Regions from separate parts of the Homo sapiens genome. Here region 2 is linked to region 1. Evidence: promoter capture Hi-C in human tissues and cell types (Jung and others, 2019). All regions are on one chromosome and are shown on one strand. The core of a region is centred on a gene start or on the middle of the fragment in contact, and the rest is flanking DNA. Distances in the headings are between cores, read along the strand shown. Region 1 holds the start of RUNX2 (RUNX family transcription factor 2). Region 2 overlaps SUPT3H (SPT3 homolog, SAGA and STAGA complex component).

Region 1 (5,586 bases), core at 604-3,103:
TATAACTGAGGGGGCCCACTTACAGCTATTGAGGGAGTCACTAAAGCAATTTTACATTTTTTTTTGTAAAATACAAAGTACATTTCCTCACCCTGTAAGAGAAACCATTTTTTCTCCCTTCAGGTTTAATTATTTCTGTTTGACCTAAACTGAGACTGATCCTCTAGTAGTATCCAGTTAAAATGTGTGAAGTAGGAGGAGTAAAGGAAACTCCAGTCATTAGTTGTAAGTTAAAAGCAGAGTTAATATAGATGTACACAGCAAGAAGGTTTATTTTAATGGATATAAGAAAAATTTTTGAAAACTTGCCTTGTAGTTGGAACATGTTGGAGATCATAAAGAGAATCTTGTAAGTGTGTTTAGATATTTTGCTATAATAACACATCAGCTGATGAATGTTAAAGTCATTTACATATCTGTATCAACAGTAACTTGAAATTAAATATTAAGGGACAAGATTATGCCTACTTCTTTTAAAGTCCAGCATGGTTTAATAGTTGTGGCTTTTAAAAATCATACAGGGTATCCTTATGGAGCTTTATTTTTCATGAGACTAAACAGCAGTTATTCATTTTGGTAGGTCCAAGAATGTGATTAAAAGAATCTTAGACGTTTCAGTGTTTCAGTGTGTTTATAACAAGGTCTATGGATAACAGTGTGTAGATGTAAAATTAAAATTACATAGAAAAATGCAGTTGCATGTAAGTTTTAAAATACTTCCATGAACTTTTTAATATCCTGGGCAACTATAAAGATCTTTTAAAAATGGCTGTGATGTGCTTATCATAATTTTATTTCAGCTGAATGTATACTTATATAAAGTTGTTTAGAAACAAACTTATTTAGATAGGATACAGTTTGAATTTATAAGTAGATTTCTTTTAGTTGAGCTGGTTAAAATGTTAACTGTACTACAGGTTTATTTCTGTGTTATACATGGTAGACCATAATGTTGAGATAATTCTGTGGTCTGTTATTTTGTAAAATTGCTTCCTTTTTGAAGTTTGCTCAAATATTGGGAGCTGCCGGAGTCAATAATTTATAATGCTTTGATTAATTTAGGATCTGACTTTTCTTCTGGTGAGGGTTAATGAGAGTATTAAACTGTTTCTTTTACTGTTTTCATATCCTCACCTCTATAACTCTAGAAAACATTTTGATCAATGTGAGATAATTTAATTTTGTATATTTCAAGTCATTACTTTGAAAATTAGATACATTACAGATACCAAATGCAAATATATACAGAAATTTCATTTTTCAATTCTTAATGCAACAAGATAGCATAATTAGGATCTTTAATATGCTATTTGGAAAAGCTAGCAGTTTATCAAAGAATCATACCTTTATGTTTAACAGGTTCATATCTTACAGGATTTTAAAAATGGTAACACTTACCCCAAAAGAAGTTTTGCTGACATGGTGTCACTGTGCTGAAGAGGCTGTTTGATGCCATAGTCCCTCCTTTTTTTTTCAGATAGAACTTGTACCCTCTGTTGTAAATACTGCTTGCAGCCTTAAACTGAAAATACAAACCATACCCAAACCTTGTTTTAGTTTTACAGTATGCCTGGAGTACATAGACTTTATATTTATTTTTTTCTGTCAAGAAATTATGTAGCTGGTAACATGTGAAAAGCAAAGAAACAAAACAAAAAGAGAATGAGCAAATATTTGAAGGACCTACTATTACTGCATAGACTGTGGTTAGAGAGCACTCACTGACTCTGTTGGTCTCGGTGGCTGGTAGTGACCTGCGGAGATTAACCATTTAAAAACCAGAGACTTCTTGCTGTCCTCCTGGAGAAAGTTTGCACCGCACTTGTGGTTCTGTGGTTGTTTGTGAGGCGAATGAAGCATTCACACAATCCAAAAAAGCAAAAGCTTTAAAACTCCTTTTTTTTGCAAGCACTATTACTGGAGAGGCAGAATCATGTGGTTTGTGACCTCACAGTACTCTTAAGTAAAGTGGGACTGCCTACCACTGTGGCTTTTCCCCCTTGCTCTTTCTCTCTCTCTCTTTCTCTCACAAAAGGCTTGTGGTAAGGCCTTTCCTGGCATCCAGAAGGATATAGCTTTTTAATTTTTGTGACTCATGAGGATTTGGATAGAATACAAATGCTGAAGGAGCCCAAACTCCTGTAAGGTTAAGCATTTGTAGAGCAGAGCTCTGCAGTTAAGGGCTTTCCTTTCTACTCCCCGCTCAACCTCTGCCTTTTTGCCTCCTCTTTTTAGTTCATTATTGTGTCTGTGGAAAAATGAACAAAATTGGCTCAAGAGTCTGTGTGAAATTCTGAACAACAGTGATGATATACAATAATTCACATCTTTGGACTGTATCACATTCTGGGGTCTGCTTCATATTTGCTGGGTGGCTGGATTCCTTCTGTTTTCCTTTTTCTTGTCTTCTTAAACTTGTGAATCTGTAACTCATTGTAAAAAAAAAAAAAGTTTACCTTAAGGTCTGGTTGCAAACTGCTTGCTAGGCTTGACTATAATTGGCTGTCATGAAAGTGTTAGTCTGGGCATTCTTTTACAAATTTTAAATCACGTCTGTCTAGTTTATTATCAATCTATTAGATGGCGGCCTTTACAATAAAGATTAAATGTAATGTTTCATGTATACCATTATCTCATGCCTAGTTTGAAGATCTTAAAAAAATGAATGACAGGGATTGTAATATAGTTTATTGGATGAATCTTAGTTTTCTTTATGATTGTAATATTTTTTGTCTTTCATTGAAGTGTATTCAGTTTATATAGTTCTTTAAGTAGTTTAGACATTAATAGAGTTTCTGATAGCAGATCTTCTATAAAGTAAAATGCTTATGTTATAATGTAGATTGTTCAGTATTTGATTCTATGAGCTTAGAATAGAGTGGGTTAACAGAAGCTATGTATTTTTTTGTTTCTAATGGAAGCTTTGAAATAAATTACAAAATGCTGTGTGTAGTAAGGAATAATGCCCACAGACAGAGTATGTTAGTCGTCTCGATTTGCTAATTCTGATTCAGAAGAAAATTGGAAACATCTTTGGGAAACTATCTCCTTTTTTGCCCCTTTGGACAAGTATGTATAGAACTCATTTTCTTATTAGGATGATTATATATCATAGGCAGTGAATTTTATATTTATGAATAGAGCTTCCTGTTTTCATCAGTTGGGAGCGATGGAGTATTTTTCAACCAAAATTATAAAGGCGAACAGACCAATTTTCTAGGCATTTTTTTGCCATTTATCCATGCCACTCTAAATCTGCATGTTAGACTTCTTCCTAGTGTGACAGTAACTAGGAGTGGCATAAAGTAAATGGGGTGGGCGGAGACAGTGAATTACAAAAGATTATTTGGAATGTGCAGGGAGGTAAGGGCTAGGGAGACAGGAGGGTGTTAGAACTAAAATATCCCTGTGTTCTTCCTAGTGCTATTCATTATCTGCTTTTGGTTCATATTAGATCACAATAACTGTACAAATATGTTCATAAGTTTCTTTACAGAAAATTTGATTTTCCCAAAATACACTGGTAGGGTATGGGAATGATTCTAGTCCTTTATTTTTCAAATGTCCAGAACCTTTTCAGAATAAACTTTTAGTGATAAAAAACCAGAAATACATTTTGGTGTTTTATTTTAACTATGGATTTATCATGCCTTATTGTATGTGTAAACAGATTTTACATTGAAAGGTAAAAGCGTTCATTTAACATGCAGTTATTCATGTGAAGGAGAGAAAAATTATTTTTTCTCTTTTATAAATAAGTCGTATCCATATTATCTGTATCTCTAATTAGTATCCAAAGTAAACAAAAGGAGGGTTTTGTCCTTATAGCTTGTGGGATTTCCAAACATGGTTTCATGTGTACCTATAATAGCAGAATCACTTAATTGAAAATATGTAGGTAGCTGCTGTAGTATGATCAGCAAATGGTTTTCTTCTTTTCAAATAAGCTTATAGTTTCTACATTAGCATTCACTGAAACATCTTACAAACCCAACATTTTGCTATTTTCTTCCTTAAAATCTTCTTTATGTAAACTTTGGCTCTTCAAATTGACCTGATAAGAATTTAAGTAATTTTTAACATCTATTTGTCATTTAATTACCTGTTCACTTTTTGCAGGTAATCCTCCTGCATGTAATTTTTGGACCAGGATTTGAGAGTTTAGTAGATATTGTTATATATGCACTTTTTGTCCTCTGTGAGGCCTATCAAATTCTAGCAGGAGAAAGATAGTGAAATCATGTGCTTTAAGTTAGTATATTCATTATCCACATGAATTTTTTTCCTAAAACGAAAATATATCCTCTTTGGAGCAAATATTACTTTGTTGTAAAAATTTAAAAAACAATGACAACTGGGGCACATTTGATAATTGGTACACATTTGATAACAGTGTGTTTCATTAGAAATAGCTTACTACACGTGGTGAAGAGATACTGATTTAGAAAAGTCAATGCAAATAAAGCTCTTGATTATAGATTTATACCATGGTTATAATCAGAAATTGAAAACCACAGATTTATTTTTATTTTTATTTTTGCTTTTTAAAGACCCATAAAATTTTATCCTCTCTGGGGACATGTTAGTATTTGCTGTTTTGAAGTAAGCAACAAGTTTAGGTATACTGTATAAATCACATACTTTAATGCCATGGAAATGAAATACAGTTTTGATCTTGAAATCAATTTCAAAGAAAAAAAGTTGTTGGTATCTTGCTTCTCCATTGCTTTGTAGTGAATAAAATGTGTTAGAATTGGTTGAACTTTTGAAAATACCAAGGTATTTGTGTTTAAATGCTATGTGTGTCTTCATTGTAACCATTTGAGTAATTTTTTATTTTCTTAACTAATGATCATATTTTAATACATTAGTTTTACTTTATCAATATTGTGCTCATTTCTATGCATTTTTTTAAGGATTATTTTAGACTTATTTGCTGCTAACTCTATTCTTTTATTTGCTGCTCATTCTTTGAAAAACAAAGGAGAAAATGGTTTGATGCAGGAATTTTTAAACTTTAGAAGTCCTAATTTGGCTTAAAATGTTCTGATTATGAGGTTTTACGAAGGAAGTTTTTAACTTATTGTTTCATCTTGGTATGTGACTGTTTCTTATTTTACTTTTTTTTGACAATTTTTCTTTTTTTTGGATTTGATGTATAGCTGTTTAAGCTTACACGGGATCTATTTGGCCTTATATTGACTACTTCTGTTAGTAAAATATGTATAGTTTCATCTGTTAAATTATGGTGACTGTGCAGTATTCCATTTCCTTGTTTAATGGGGTATATGTTTATGTACACAACTGCATGCACATTTGTCTTATTGCGTATGTATACAAGGCATTGTTTTGTAGTACTTTTTGTAATAAGAGCATTTTTCTCAGTTTATTTTAATTAGATCAGGTAAAAACCCAAACTAGCACCATTTCCCTGATTGTTTGAACAACTTCATTTGATTAGTTTTAGCAGCTGTCTAAATGTGAGATTATGTGGAATGCCAGAAGAGAAAATGCTAAGTCAATCTCTCCTGCCTTCCCTCCCTCCCTCTCCCTATCTCTCTCTCTCTACCAATCTCTCTCCCTCTA
Region 2 (4,854 bases), core at 1,915-4,414, 370 kb after region 1:
TAAGTGTTTTATAGACCCGTGGGGCCAGATTAATCAAAAGAATAATCAGTGGATTATAAAGAAAATCTTACAGATTTCATAAAATCTTCACTATCAATCTTTCCCTCTAGGTTACTAGTTAAATGAATAATGTCTAATGAAGTCCCTATATCAAATTAGACTGCTTAGCACTGTGGCAGTGTAGAGATATTTAACTAAAGGTTACATACGCGCTTGGTTCTGTATATGCTTGGTACTATTACACATGCAGAGACATAAGGCATGGTCTTCTCCCACAAAAATTTGTAATATGGCTTAAGAAATTATAAGCATTTGTGAAAGAATATCTGATGGTATCAGTGTTCAATAAATGGCTAGAGTAGGGAAGTATACCTTTGGCCTGTATGATCAAGATTCATATGAATGAAGAAGAGTGATGGCAGAGCATTCCATGGAAGGAAAGGAGTAGGAGTAGACACACAGAGGAAAAGACTCAAGGCCAGGTGATGGTTTAATAGGGAAATATCTTAAAGGCTGCTTGGAATCAGTCTGGATGGTTTTGAGTCAGGCTTAAGAATTTAGACATCTTCATAACCGGAAAAAATGTAACCACAGGCTTAGATTAGACCAGATGTCAGTTTATTTAACTTTAAATTTACAACTTTGAGCCATTCTGGTAATAGACACTTTTTTTTTTTTATTTTTATTTTTTTTTTTTATTTTTTTTTTTTTGAGACAGTTTCGCTCTTGTTGTGCAGTGGCGCCATCTCGGCTCACTGCAACCTCCACCTTCCGGTTTCAATCAATTCTCCTGCCTCAGCCTCACGAGTAGCTGGGACTACAGGCACGCACCACCACGCCCAGCTAATTTTTTGTATTTTTAGTAGAGATGGGGTTTCACCATGTTGGCCAGGATGGTCTCCATCTCTTGACCTCGTGATCTGCCCACCTTGGCCTTCCGAAGTGCTGGGATTACAGGCGTGAGCCACCGCGCCCGACCTAGACACTTTTTTTAAACGTATTTATTTAGTAGGTTTTTTGGGGAACCGGTGGTGTTTAGTTACATGAATCTTTTTTTTTTTTGAGACGGAGTCTCGCACTCGCCCAGGCTGGAGTGCAGTGGCTCCATCTCGGCTCACTGTAAGCTCCACCTCCCAGGTTCACACCATTCTCCTGCCTCAGCCTCCCAAGTAGCTGGGACTACAGGCACCCGCTACCATGCCTGGCTAATTTTTTTTGTATTTTTAGTAGAGACGGGGTTTCACCATATTAGCCAGGATGGTCTCGATCTCCTGACCTCGTGATCGGCCCGCGTCGGCCTCCCAAAGTGCTGGGATTACAGGCGTGAGCCACCGCGCCCAGCCTACATGAATCTTTAGTAGCAATTTCTGAGGTTTTGGTGCACCCATCACCCGAGCAGTGTGTATATTGTACCCAATGTGCAGTCTTTTATCCCTCACCCCCCTCCTACCCTTTCCCCTGAGTCCCCAAATTCCACTGTATCATTCTTATGCCTTTGCGTCCTCATAGTTTAGCTCTCAGTTATAAGTGAGAGTATAGGATATTTGGGTTGCCATGAGCTGGAGGCAGGGTTAGGCATGTCTGAGCTCAGACTCTTCTTGGGCGGGGCTTGCTGTGGCTGTTGTGGGGGATGAGGGTGTGGCTTCTAGAACAAGGGAGTTACCGTTGCCAGGGGCATTATGGCTGCCTCTGTTGCCCCACGCAGGTCGCCAGGGAAGTGGGGGAAAGCCAGCAGCCGCAGGCCTCACCCAGCTCCCATGCAGCCCACAGCCCGAAAGGCCGGTCTCACTCCACCATGCCCTCTGCCCGTAACAGCACCAACTTTATTTCCAGGCAGCTGGTGAGCAGGGCTGAGAACTTTCCCCAGGCTACCGGCTTCCTAGCTGAGAAAGCAAGCCTACTCACAGTTCCTCTGCGTCCCACAGAGCCTGCAGTGGTGATCCACCTCCTTCAAGGGGTCTGTGGCTCTTGGCTTTCCTGGTATATTCCTACGGTAGTTCTTGGAGCAAAAGTTCACAGTGTGGGTCTCCACGTGCTGCTCTACCCATCCAAGTGGGAGCTGCAAGTTAATCCTGCCTGCTATGTGCCATTTTCTTCTGAGACTAGAGAATATTTTTGAAAAATATTAGCAATAGTTTCTGTATGTTTCTTTTTTCATCACAGGTTCTTTCTTGCAAGATTTTCTTTCTATATGAGTAAATTAAGGTTACATCAGACAAGAACATCTTCTGACTTCTTGTTGTAACATGAGCGGTAGCCAATGGTAAATCTGACAGTGTGAGAAGTATTAAACATTAAATGCTTTAATATACTATGTCATATAGCATAGGTGTAAAATAAAAGACCCAAATACGTAAGAGAGTTGTTGAAAACAACCATTGTGTTGCCTTATAACTGAGAGTTAAAACTTGGATTTCTTGGGGCCAGAATATCTAGACATTAATTATGCATTTTATGTGCATTATTTTTTGTGTACAATTCTGAGTATACTTTTTTAATTTTGTGATAGTAATGTGCAGTATTAAAACACTTTAAAAATTAAAATTTCTGCACTTGTTTTTTTTAAATGGCCAGCCAAAAAAGCTTCCAAATTTCGAGACTGGTTGGACTGCAGCAGTATGGAGATAAAACCCAATGTTGTCGCAATGGAAATCTTAGCATATTTAGCGTATGAAACTGTGGCACAGGTAAGAATTCTAATCTGTCATATCGGGCCACACTGGCTGGTTTTTCTTTATCTCTGCCCATGATCAATTCTTCTTCTCCCTGCTGCTCTACCAGTAATAACAGCCATGAATTCTCTCCTGTGGCATTTACATCATTTTCTAAAATTTAGTTCAGTTATGTGTCTCTGCATCCTCAATTCAAGTGGATGCTAGGATAAAAAAGAGTTCTTGTACCTTTATCTTAATGAGAAATGGAATCCCTGCATGCTTTTTCTTGACATTGAACTCAAATCCACATCTGCCTTGTTTAGAGATTATTTTTGAGCTTTGAAAAACACCTTTCTACGTATGTGAGAATTTAGGAGTACTTACCAAATTCTGGGTCTGGAATCTCGCCCTCTAAAAGACTTTCTCAAGATGTGGTCTTTAGACCACAGGCATCAGCATCTCCTTGGTTCTTGTTTAAAATGCAAATTCTGGCCAGGCGCGGTGGCTCTTGCCTGTAATCCCAACACTTTGGGAGGCCGAGGTGGGTGGATCACCTGCAGTCAGGAGTTCAAGACCAGCTTGGCCAATATGGTGAAACCACATCTCTACTAATAATACCAAAAAAAAGTTAGCCGGGCATGGTGGCGGGCACCTGTAGTCCCAGCTACTCAGGAAGGCTGAGGCAGGAGAATCATTTGAACCTAGGAGGCCGAGGTTGCAGTGAGCTGAGGTCGCACCATTGCACTCCAGCCTGGGCAACAAGAGCGAAACTCCATTTCAAAAATTAATAAAATAAAATAAAATAAGCAAATTCCTAGACTATATGCTTAAAACAGACCTACTGAATTAGAATCTCTGGACTTAAAGCCCAGAAATTTGCACTAGTGACTGTGAAATAAATTTTGAGAACTACTCTCCTAAAAAGTCAGAATATATCATGACTAGGTCCATTCACCAGTCAATGAAAGTGTGTGCTCATGTCTACAATATAGATTTTTAGGCAAGCAGGATTATCAGTAACATTCAGAATGTATTGCTTTTAGGTTTGCCACTTCAGTGGCATTCATGATTATTTCTAGCTATGTGACTTTCATTCTTCTGGTCTTCTAGTTAGTGGATCTGGCTCTTCTTGTGAGGCAAGACATGGTAACCAAGGCAGGGGACCCCTTCAGCCATGCCATTTCTGCAACCTTCATTCAGTATCACAACTCTGCTGAGGTAAGTACAAAAAAAATCTGTCTTAAAACATTTGTGAATTTTGACACATATCTGGTATTTACATTAGTGATTCTTTAATAAAGATTATGCAGGAGTGTATAACCTTCAGTCAAAGAATCTTAATACATTAGACATTCAAATAAGTATTTAATTGAGCACCTACTGTGTGCCAGGCCCTGACAGTCCACTTAAGACAATGACTTTTTTCACGTTTTTCTTGCTTCACTTAGCTTTCCTACCCCTTCATTGAAAGGGATAGTTGCAAGGCATTTCTTATTTTTATGGGAGATGAAAAACTGGTTTAGGTAATGTTGGAAAAGTCATTTATTTCTTTGTGCTTCAAAAGATAAGAGGGTTATCATTATTATTCACAAAATAATCCCTGGCATTTATTGATAACTTTCCATTTCAGTTATTGATTCATCTCTAAAAATGATTTAAAGAAGCTTGTCTTCATTCATCTTGAGTTTTTAGATTGCCCCTACTATGTGAAAATTATATTCTTTTCTGATCTGGCTTTGCTATGGGAACCGTAAAGTTTTCTTTCCAATTTTAAGGCTCTGTATAATAACTGTGCACCACTTTTAGTATACAGAATCTCCTCTGTAAACAGCATCTACCTCAAAACCAGAAATGTATTGCAGTGTCTTGAATGTATTTGCCAATATTCGACCCTTTTCACTAACAAAAACAGCAGTTTCACGTAATTCAATCGAATATCCATAGATAAGACAGCAAGAAGGTTAAGTTCGCATCTACATGTAGAGTTGTGAAGTACGTTTTGGATCAAGTTGGTTGAAATATATAACCTGAAAATGGCTAAGCTCTGTTTTATAGCCATACCTTGATTACACATTTCTACTCCTTGTTAAATATCTATAGGCAAGGATAGTGGTTCAAATCATTTCTAAGAAGTAGTTGTAATCTTCTTTAGGTCACACACCCCTTTGAGAATCTGATGAAAACTATAAACCCTTTTTCT

What was found. The method cuts DNA at HindIII sites, captures the fragments that hold promoters and counts their contacts. A contact is called where the count stands out against the background at its distance.
Region 2: a contact is called between a fragment that was not itself captured here and the fragment with the promoter of RUNX2 in region 1, in 2 of the 25 tissues and cell types used here (mesenchymal stem cells and spleen).

The regions. Positions count from the first base shown.
Region 1 is chr6:45,324,597-45,330,182 of GRCh38, reverse strand. It overlaps RUNX2 (RUNX family transcription factor 2), which reads right to left and starts at 1,853. Exons shown (of 9, transcript NM_001024630.4): 1 at 1,723-1,853; 2 at 1,399-1,522. The coding sequence starts at 1,456. The region is part of intron 2 of SUPT3H (SPT3 homolog, SAGA and STAGA complex component); the gene reads left to right. RefSeq lists an enhancer at 2,084-2,124, a promoter at 1,531-2,171 and a cis regulatory region at 3,129-3,135. The HindIII fragment of the contact is 4,056 bases long and covers 1-3,434 here.
Region 2 is chr6:44,952,328-44,957,181 of GRCh38, reverse strand. SUPT3H (SPT3 homolog, SAGA and STAGA complex component) reads left to right here. Exons shown (of 11, transcript NM_003599.4): 8 at 2,575-2,687; 9 at 3,765-3,872. Among named protein-coding and RNA genes, the nearest start is that of MIR586, 240 kb to the left of the region's middle. The HindIII fragment of the contact is 5,370 bases long and covers 480-4,854 here.